Linked DNA regions of Homo sapiens: region 2 is linked to region 1. Evidence: promoter capture Hi-C in human tissues and cell types (Jung and others, 2019). All regions are on one chromosome and are shown on one strand. Each heading gives the region's core, a stretch centred on a gene start or on the middle of the fragment in contact. The rest is flanking DNA. Distances are from core to core; before and after follow the strand shown.

Region 1 (4,882 bases), core at 1,447-3,946:
TCGCTGTGTCGCCAGGCTGGAGTGCAATGATGCAATCTTGGCTCACTGCAACCTCTGCCTCCCGGGTTCAAATGATTATCCTGCCTCAGCCTTCCGAGTAGCTGGGACTACAGGCGTGTGCCACCACACCCAGCTAATTTTTTGTATTTTTAGTAAAGACGGGGTTTCACCGTGTTAGCCACGGTGGTCTCAATCTCCTGACCTCGTGATCCACCCGCCTTGTACTTCTTTATCTATCTGTGTATACATACTGAAAATCATGGATCCACACTGCTAAGTCCAATTCCAGTTCAACACTAGTGGGCTCATTCTCCCTTTCCTTATTTGTAACTCCTATCTCTGAGAGTTTCAACTCTGGCTCCAATTATCCTTAATACATTCAGTTACCTGGTCATCCCCCTGTATGTAACTAATCTGTCATCTCCACCAGCACCCTGCCCTCCCTGGACACCACACACTGGGCCACTCCAATACCGGGATGTGCCACATCTTCAAATTGCTTGGGCTGTGACCCTGGGCCGGGCTGCACCAGCACCCATTTGTGTCTGACATTGTGCTGGGCAGCCCCACTGTGCTGCCACCCTCCTCAACCTGCTCCAGTCCAGCACCCTGCTTGGGCCACTGTGGAACATACTACACAAACGCCCACTTTGCTTGACACACCTGATGGCCTTAGCACGGAATTGTTCAGGAGGGTACCATGAAGGACGGAAGGAAGAGCCCCATAGAAGTGTAATGGATCCTTACATTATATAGTCCAGCCTCCAACCCAAGGTTCACCCTTGTCCATTCTGCACTGGGGCAGCAACACCAATTACTTTGCTCCACCGACCTACCAAGATTCAGATAGAATCATTGGATTGACTATTAATAGTTTTCTGCTGATAGTTGCTGCAAGCAACTGCAGCTTGCTCCTTAGCCTTCTACTGACTTGCTGTATTTAGCATATTTTATCAAATTTTGCAACCTCCTCTCCTCATTGCCCTCACTTGAGTTTTTGAGGTTCCTGTTTGTGGACAAGACTTACCAGATGTATGAAGCTGGTTATATAACTGATTGGTCAGCAAATATAATGAGGACGGACCCTGCGCCCACCACCGTGTACCTGTGTAAACACCATACTGCGCAAAGTCCACCAGCCTTCCAGGGAGAACATGCTGCACTGTGGGCGACACTGCCTCCGTTCCAGCAGCAATGTAAGCGGAGTCTGGGCTGACGATGGACGTGTGGATAGCCTGTATGTGTATATCTGTGCTCATGCTTCTAACACACATCCACCCTATTATGGACACGTTTATACATCTTCATGCCATGGTATTTTGTACCTTACTGCAGACCCTACCAACGCTTCAGTGAGGTTCTGGCAGCTTTGGGTTTTTGGAGGCTATTTGTCTGTTGCTGCGGGGACGGCTTTCAGAAAGAATGATCGCTTTGGGGGAATTGTACCCTGCTTTCCTGCGCAAATTCCAGCGGCTGGAGTTTGAGGCCCCTAGCAGATAACCCTTCTGCCCCTACCCCCATGAGTCTACATACAAGAAATACATCTCTAAAGAGGTAATAAGCCTTTCCGGTGTGCATGTTACAGATCTCTTAACCTTATATATACACAGATGGTCCATCACTTACCGTGGTTTCACTTACGATGTTTCGACTTCATGATGGGTTCACTGGGACTTGACCCCATTTTTTTTTTTTTTTTTTAGACGGAGTCTTGCTCTTGTCGATCTCTGCTCACTGCAACCTCCGCTTCTTGGGTTCAAGTTATTCTCCTGCCTCAGCCTCTTAAGTAGCTGGGATTAAGCGCCACCACGCCGAGCTAATTTTTGTACTTTTAGTAGAGATGGGGTTTCACTATGTTGGTCAGGCTGGTCTCGAACTCCTGACCTCAGGTGATCCGCCTGCCTCAGCATCCCAAAGTGCTGGGATTACAGGTGTGAGCCACCGCGCCCCCTGACCCCTTCTTAAGTGGAGAAATATCTGTATCTGCATGCCCACAGGGGAGCTCCTAATTACACCATGTGCCGCATCCAAGCCACAGGCCGGTGATGTGAAGACACCCGATCCAAGAAATACAATAGCATTAAGAAAGAAAAAATGCTGCCATGGATACTACCAAACGCCAAATGACTCTAACACGTAGGCTAATTGCAAGGACCTTAAAATCGCAAATAAAAAGGCGCCTGTAGGTCGGGCGCGGTGGCCCACACCTGTAATCCCAGCACTTTAGGAGGCGGGCGGATCACCTGAGACCAGCCTGGCCAGCATGGCGGAACCCCATCGCTACTAAAATACAAAAATTAGCCAGGAGTGGTGGCGCATGCCTGTAATCCCAGCTACTCCGGAGCCTGAGGCAGGAGAATCGCTTGAACCCAGGAGGCGGAGTTTGCAGTGAACCGAGACAGCGCAACCGCACTCCAGCCTGGACGACAGAATGAGACTCCGTCTCAAAAAAAAAAAAAAAAAAAAAAAGCGAGGGCTGGAAGTCTGGAGCAGGTGCGCGGCTGCAACGGCAGCCGCGGGAAGCTCGGGCCGGCAGGGTTTCCCCGCACGCTGGCGCCCAGCTCCCGGCGCGGAGGCCGCTGTAAGTTTCGCTTTCCATTCAGTGGAAAACGAAAGCTGGGCGGGGTGCCACGAGCGCGGGGCCAGACCAAGGCGGGCCCGGAGCGGAACTTCGGTCCCAGCTCGGTCCCCGGCTCAGTCCCGACGTGGAACTCAGCAGCGGAGGCTGGACGCTTGCATGGCGCTTGAGGCAAGTTCGGGGCTCATTTTGGAAGTTTTCTTTCTAGCACAGACATCCAACTCTGCTCCTATGCCAGTCAGATAATTAAGGAATTAAGTAATAATTGTGCTCTGCAAATTATGATAGTGATCTGTATTTACTACGTGCATATATTTTGGGCCAGTGAATTTTTTTCTAAGCTAATATAGTTATTTGGACTTTTGACATGACTTTGTGTTTAATTAAAACAAAAAAAGAAATTGCAGAAGTGTTGTAAGCTTGTAAAAAAATTCAAACAATGCAGACAAATGTGTCTCGCAGTCTTCCACTCAGTATCATTTTTGTTTGTACCTTATCAGAAATGTTTCTATGTACAAGTCTTTAAAATCATTTCGAACTTGCTTTGTCCACTGAGTATATTATGGACATCTTTTCATGGCAGGACATATAGATGTGTTAATGGCATTAAAAATAAAACAAAAAACTGATTCGGCCGGGTACGGTGGCTCACGCCTGTAATCCCAGCACTTTGGGAGATCGAGGAGGGAGGATCACCTGAGGTCAGGAGTTACAGACATGGAGAAACCCCGTCTCTACTAAAAATACAAAATTAGCCTGGCGTGGTGGCGCATGCCTGTAATCCCAGCTACTCGGGAGGCTGAGGCAGGAGAATCGCTTGAACCCGGGAGCGGAGGTTGCGGTGAGCCGAGATCGCACCGTTGCACTCCAGCCTGGGCGACAGAGCGAAACTGTCTCAAACAAACAAACAAAAAAACCTGATACATGGTATGGGAAGTACATTGTTTAAACAATGCATGGAGATTTAGGTTGTTTCCAGTTTTTACTGGCACAGATACGGCAATGAATATAATTTTATGTATACATTCATACAAATATATCGGTGGAAAATTCCTAGAAGTGGAATGGCTGGGTCAGTGGGCATTCATATTGAGAAATTGGAAGGATGTTGTCAAACTCTGCAAATCAGAGTATTTTAGTCTTAACCTCTCTTCTTCACACCCTTTTCCTTGGAAGAAAGCTAAATTTAGACTTTTAAACACAAAACTCCATTTTGAGACCCCTGAAAATCTGGGTTCAAAGTGTTTGAAAATTAAAGCAGAGGCTTTAATTTGTACTTATTTAGGTATAATTTGTACTTTAAAGTTGTTCCAGAAAACAAGGCAAATACTGAAAAGCATTTCATCTGAAGTTTCTTTCTGGTATTGAACAGAGTTGGATGGAGAGTGAATGCAGGTTACCGATGTGTTCGCAGGAACAAAACGGGAGGGAGAGTAACACAGGTGCACGGCTTCATATTGATTTATCAAAGAACTTGCTTTTGGACTGTTAAAAAATGTGTTGCACAGTTCTGACACTTTTACACAATGATGAGCTTACAAAGGGGAAAATGCTTAACATAAACATAGTTTCAAAGAAGGTAAGTCCTAGTTTTTCCACGAGCTGTTTTTTTTTTTGAGAGAGAGTAGTCCCAAAATTTCCCTATTATGTGGTTTTTCATCCAAAGTGTTGTAATCCGTGTGTTCTAACCCGCATATTACGATTACTCAAGAAATGCAAAATAGGCCGGGCGCGGTGGCTCACGCCTGTAATCCCAGCAATTTGGGAGGCCGAGGCAGGTGGATCACGAGGTCAGGAGATCAAGACCATCCTAGCTAACACGGTGCAAACCCATCTACTAAAAATAAAAAATATTAGCTGGGCGTGGCGGCAGGCGCCTGTAGTCCCAACTACTCGGGAGGCTGAGGCAGGAGAATGGCGTGAACCTGGGAGGCGGAGCTTGCAGTGAGCCAAGATCCGGCCACTGCACTCCAGCCTGGGCGACAGAGGGAGACTCCGTCTCAAAAATAAAAATAAAAATAAAAAAAGAAAAAAGAAATGCAAAATAATGTGAACACGTCATCGAGACTGCGGTCTACAATTGTGGTTGCCATGATGGGGTGGGTCGGAAGACACCGAGGCTGCTTGAATCATGTTCCTGGCAGGTTAATTTTGTTCCTTTTAGGGCATCTAAATGTTGGAGTTGGCTTTCCTGGCAGAGAGTCCAGTTGTGAGTGGAGTATTGGGTGGAGGCCCCACCCTCCCCAGGTTTTCTGCAGCTTGTTCCTGGCTCTTCTGGGGCTTCTCTGAGGACCCCGATTGGTC
Region 2 (4,882 bases), core at 1,590-4,089, 560 kb before region 1:
GAACAGGGCCTCTGTGAAAGGATCTGGTTCCAGCACACAGTGACCTGCTCCAAAATAACTCGGTTTTTTGGGTCTGGCGCCGTGGCTTACGCCTGTAATCCCAGCACTTTGGGAGGCCGAGGCAGGCGGATCCGAGGTCAGGAGATCGAGACCATCCTGGCTAACACGGTGAAACCCCGTCTCTACCAAAAAATACAAAAAATTAGCCAGGCGTGGTGGCGGGCGCCTGTAGTCCCGGCTACTCCGGAAGCTGAGGCAGGAGAATGGCACGAACCCGGGAGGCGGAGCTTGCAGTGAGCCGAGATGGCACCACTGCACCCCAGCCTGGGCAACAGAGCGAGACTCCGTCTCAAAAAAAAAAGAAAAAGAAAAAACAAACAACTTGGTTTTTCTCATTCGGGCAACACTAATAAAACTATTTCCTCAATAAAGTTGTGCACGTCACGCTGAAGAGCCATGTGGGGTGTGTGGAAGATTGCAAGGGTGGAAAGAATGCTCCTGGTGATGGGCTGGGAACAACGGGCAACAGCCCAGGGGACCCCCAGAGGGTTAACGGGTCCAGGTGCTGACAGCTGTCACCATCAAGTGCCACGGGGATTGGGAAAATACTTCTTTTCTAGGTGCCTCAGTAAGAATTTGACTCTGTCAAAACCTAAATTTGTAGTGCCTTACACTAGAAATCACATTAAATCCGCATAACTCTTTTAATAAATAAAGCATATTCATGGCTTAGATTTTAAATCACATTTACAGATGAGGGAAAACTTCTAGGCCTAAACAGGTAACAGTAAAGCGACTACTGCTGGAAGGAGTGGTGTGCCACATGCGCCTTAAGCCTCAAGAGTGGGGACTGCAGGGCCAAACACCAAATACATCACCTTTAGGCCAGACGGAGAGTGGAGACCCAGGAAGCCCATGCAACCACCATCTGCCCCCTCCCCTAGTGCTGCAGAACCGGCTGGACACTGTCACACTTTCAGAAGAACTGGAGGTGGGTCCTGATCATATTACATGAAGCTTTCCACCATTGTGAACAATTAGGCAAGGCATGAGTGACAGAGGGGCATCGCTGATAAATACAGAGCAATACTGGGGCAGTGAAGAGGAAGCTACAGAGACATTCGTGTTTCTTCAAATATCAGAAGCTTCCACATCACAGCAGGAGAGCTGACGACGAGCTCCACCTCCTGAAGGCTTAGTCCAAAAACTTCCTGTTGGCATTTGCACCAAACAAGGCTCCCCGGACTTCTGGCATCATCTGTGGAGAGAAAGTGTAATAAATACGCAATGTCAGCTGAAGAAGTTGTAGAGCGCTGCACATCTTTTTTTTTTTTTTTTTTTTGAGACGGAGTCTCGCTCTGTCGCCCAGGCTGGAGTGCAGTGGCGCATCTCCGCTCATTGCAAGCTCACGCCATTCTCCTGCCTCAGCCTCCCAAGTAGATGGGACTACAGGTGCTTGCCACCATGCCTGGCTAATTTTTTTGTATTTTTAGTAGAGACGGGGTTTCACCATGTTAGCCGGGATGGTCTCGATCTCCTGACCTCGTGATCCACCCGCCTCGGCCTCCCACAGTGCTGGGATTACAGGCGTGAGCCACCAAGCCTGGCCAGAGTGCTGCACATCTTAACCACAGGTGGAAAGCCATGAACCTCTATGTGGCTGGGAAGGACTCACAAAGCCACGCACATCAAAGCCACCCTCTCCTTCCCTGAAGCAAGTAACACATTCCTTGGTGAGAAACTTAACTCATCCCAAATCTGGGGTTCAGACTGCTTACAAAAGGGACACATTAAAAAAAAACAAAACAAAAAAAAACCTAAAGTCACTACTATCTCAGACTTAACTCATCATAATCATCTCACCACAATATGCTGGGTCACCTACACTCTTTCTTCAACAAACATTTACTGAGTGCCTACTATGGCCACAGCAGCTGCAAAGAACACTTCCAATGCCAGCTTAGGCTGGAAGCACTTGCTACAGCCACTGATGAATCCTTAGGAGAACTTAACCCTGGACTTCCAAGGCTCGGCTGTCCAACAGGGCAGTCCTAGCTACAGATGGTTATTGTGTGCTGAGAAACTGAATTTTTCGGTTTAATTAAATATCCGTAAGTGAGTAGTGGCTATGATACTGGATGGGACAGTGGCTACTAGGAAACAATGTTCTGAGGTTTAAGTTACCAGAATATGAAAAAATCAAGGTGAAAGTGCTTTAGTTATAAGACAAGTATCTGCATAAACAGTAAACTGCATATCTAGGTCAGGGAATAACTAGGTTGGCAGCCACAGCAATAGACTCCCACTAGAAGTCTAGAAGATGCCCAGCATTTTAGAACAAATGGAATTTTCCTGGCTTGTTTCCTAGAGTTCCTGTGTACAAATCTGGAAACATCTGAAAAGCCAGCAGCTTTATGATAATTCCTTTAAATAAGTATTTGTGTCTGAGCACGGTGGCTCACACCTGTAATCCCAGCACTTTGGGAGGCCAAGGCGGGTGGATCACCTGAGGTCAGGAATTTGATAACAGCCTGGCCAACATGGTGAAACCCCGTCTCTACTAAAAATACAAAATTAGCCGGGTGTGGTGGCAGGTGCCTGTAATCCCAGCTACTCGGGAGGCTGAAGCAGGAGAATCGCTTGAACCTGGGAGGTGGAAGTTGCAGTGAGCCAAGACTGCACTCCAGCCTGCGCAAAAAAGAGTGAAACTCCATCTCAAAAAAGCAAAACAAAACAAAAAAACACAAGTATTTGCTTTAGTTCCCATCACTCCTGTTAGAGAAAGAACTTGTCAGCACCTTACATGTAGTAAAATGTACATATTCGAATCCTAGGTCAACAAAACACTTGTTCTGACCCCAAATTCACCCTCATGTAAATGTTACCACCTCAGCAAATGCTACTACATGCCCAATTCTCATTCTTTTTGAGAAAATGTCCAAAACTGGAAAGACAGCAACAAATCCCAAATACCAGTGAATGGACACGTGTTCTCTGTCCCACTTCAAAGTAACAGCAGACCAACTACCAAGAAGTACCCCCACACTCACCTGCTGGGCTATGAGATCCAGCCGGCTTTCCAGGGTGTTGGAAACCTTTATTTTACGATCTCCATTATAGATCTCAACTCCACCAGCTCTGCAAAAAAAAAAGCACAGGAAATAATCATTTTCAAAGACTTGAGAAAGATACATGGTACCCTTTACTCCCGCAGAGGAATGCCCTTGTCTTGGTGTGTAGACTGCGCAACCTAAGCAACAGGCTTGAAAGGAACTGAAAAAGCTTCTGAAGATGTAACGCACAGTTGGTTTCAGGAAACCCCAGTCCCCGCCTAGATGTCCATTATATGAAACAGCGTAGTATTTGCATACAACCATCACACATCCTCCCCTATATTGCAAATCATGTCTACAGCACTTAAAATAGCTAATACGATGTAAATGGTTGTTATACCGTAGTGTTTAGGGAGTGAAAAGAAAAAGTTGGTTGAATTCACAGGTGTGGACCCCAAAGATACAGAGAACTGACTGTATTCATCTCAATAACTGTCATTTACCAAGTGACACTATGTGTCAATTTGTTTTGTTTTTTTTGAGACTCGCTCTGTTGCCCAGGCAGGAGTGCAATGGTGCGATCTTGGCTCACTGCAACCTCTGCCTCCCGAGTTCAAGCAATTCTCCTGCGTCAGCCTCCCCAGTAGCTGGGATTACAGGCACCTGCCATCACGCCTGGCTAATTTTTGTATTGTTGTAGAGACGGGGTTTCACCATGTTGGCCAGGCTGGTCTTGAACTCCTGACCTCAGGTGATCCGCCCACCTCTGCCTCCACAAGTGTTGGGATTACAGGAGTGAGTCACCGCGCCCAGCCTGTGTCAATTTGATTTTATGTTACAAAACCTGTTTTAATTATCACAGCCAGCCCTCCCCAACAAAATGAAAAAGAGAGGATTTCATCTCAGTTTGCAAATCACTCAATCCTCATCTGAATGTTTTCTTAAGCCCAATCCTGCTCATTACTGATGAGGCCCTATCACGACTGCATGTGTGTCTGATAAAAGATGCCACTGCTGGCCGGGCGTGGTAGCTCACCCCTGTAATCCCAGCACTTTGGGAGGCCGAGGTGCTCCCAAACTCAAGTTTGAGGCCAGCCTGGCCAACATGGCGAAAGCCTGTCTCCACTAAAAATACAAAAATTAGCTGGGCATGGTGGGGCGTGCCTGTAGTCCCAGCTACTTGAGAGACTGAGGCAGGAGAATTGCTTGAACCCAGGAGGCAGAGGTTGCAGCAAGCCGAGATCACACCACTGCACTCCAGCTTGGGTGACAGAAAGAGACCCTTACTCAAAATACAACAACAACAACAAAAAAAGAGGCTGGGTGCGGTGGCTCACGCCTGTAATCCCAGCTCTTTGAGAGGCCGAGGTGGGCAGATCACGACATCAGGAGATTGAGACAATCCTGGCTAACAAGGTGAAACCCCGTCTCTACTAAAAATACAAAAAAAATTAGCGAGGCATGGTGGCGGGTGCCTGTAGTCCCAGCTAATCGGGAGGCTAAGGCAGGAGAATGGTGTGAACCTGGGAGGTGGAGCTTGCAGTGAGCCGAGGTCGTGCCACTGCACTCCAGCCTGGGTGAGAGTGAGACTCTGTCTCAAAAAATAAATAAATAAATAAATAAGATAAAAAATGCTATGAGGTTAGTGCTAATACGTCAATTTACAGATAAGGGAATCAGGGCTCACTACTATGGTTTGAGTCTGTTCCCTCAGAAACTAATGGTGAAATTTGATTCTCAATGTGGCAGTGTTGGGAGGTGGAGCATAGTAGGAGGTGTTCAGGGCTCAAGGGCAGATCCCGAGGCAATGAACTGTGGCGAGGGCCTGG

What was found. Contacts are between HindIII fragments. The study calls those that stand out against the background at their distance.
Region 2: a fragment that was not itself captured here is called in contact with the fragment with the promoter of USP18 in region 1 in 1 of the 25 tissues and cell types used here (lymphoblastoid cells).

Annotation. Positions count from the first base shown.
Region 1 is chr22:18,147,474-18,152,355 of GRCh38, forward strand. USP18 (ubiquitin specific peptidase 18) reads left to right here and starts at 2,697. Exons shown (of 11, transcript NM_017414.4): 1 at 2,697-2,749. It overlaps LOC124905076 (a long non-coding RNA gene), which reads right to left and starts at 1,741. Exons shown (of 2, transcript XR_007067999.1): 1 at 1,627-1,741. RefSeq lists an enhancer at 2,438-2,757. The HindIII fragment of the contact is 12,042 bases long and covers 1-3,970 here.
Region 2 is chr22:17,591,479-17,596,360 of GRCh38, forward strand. ATP6V1E1 (ATPase H+ transporting V1 subunit E1) reads right to left here. Exons shown (of 9, transcript NM_001696.4): 8 at 3,051-3,138; 9 at 658-1,258. The coding sequence ends at 1,196. Among named protein-coding and RNA genes, the nearest start is that of SLC25A18, 30 kb to the left of the region's middle. The HindIII fragment of the contact is 3,516 bases long and covers 1,082-4,597 here.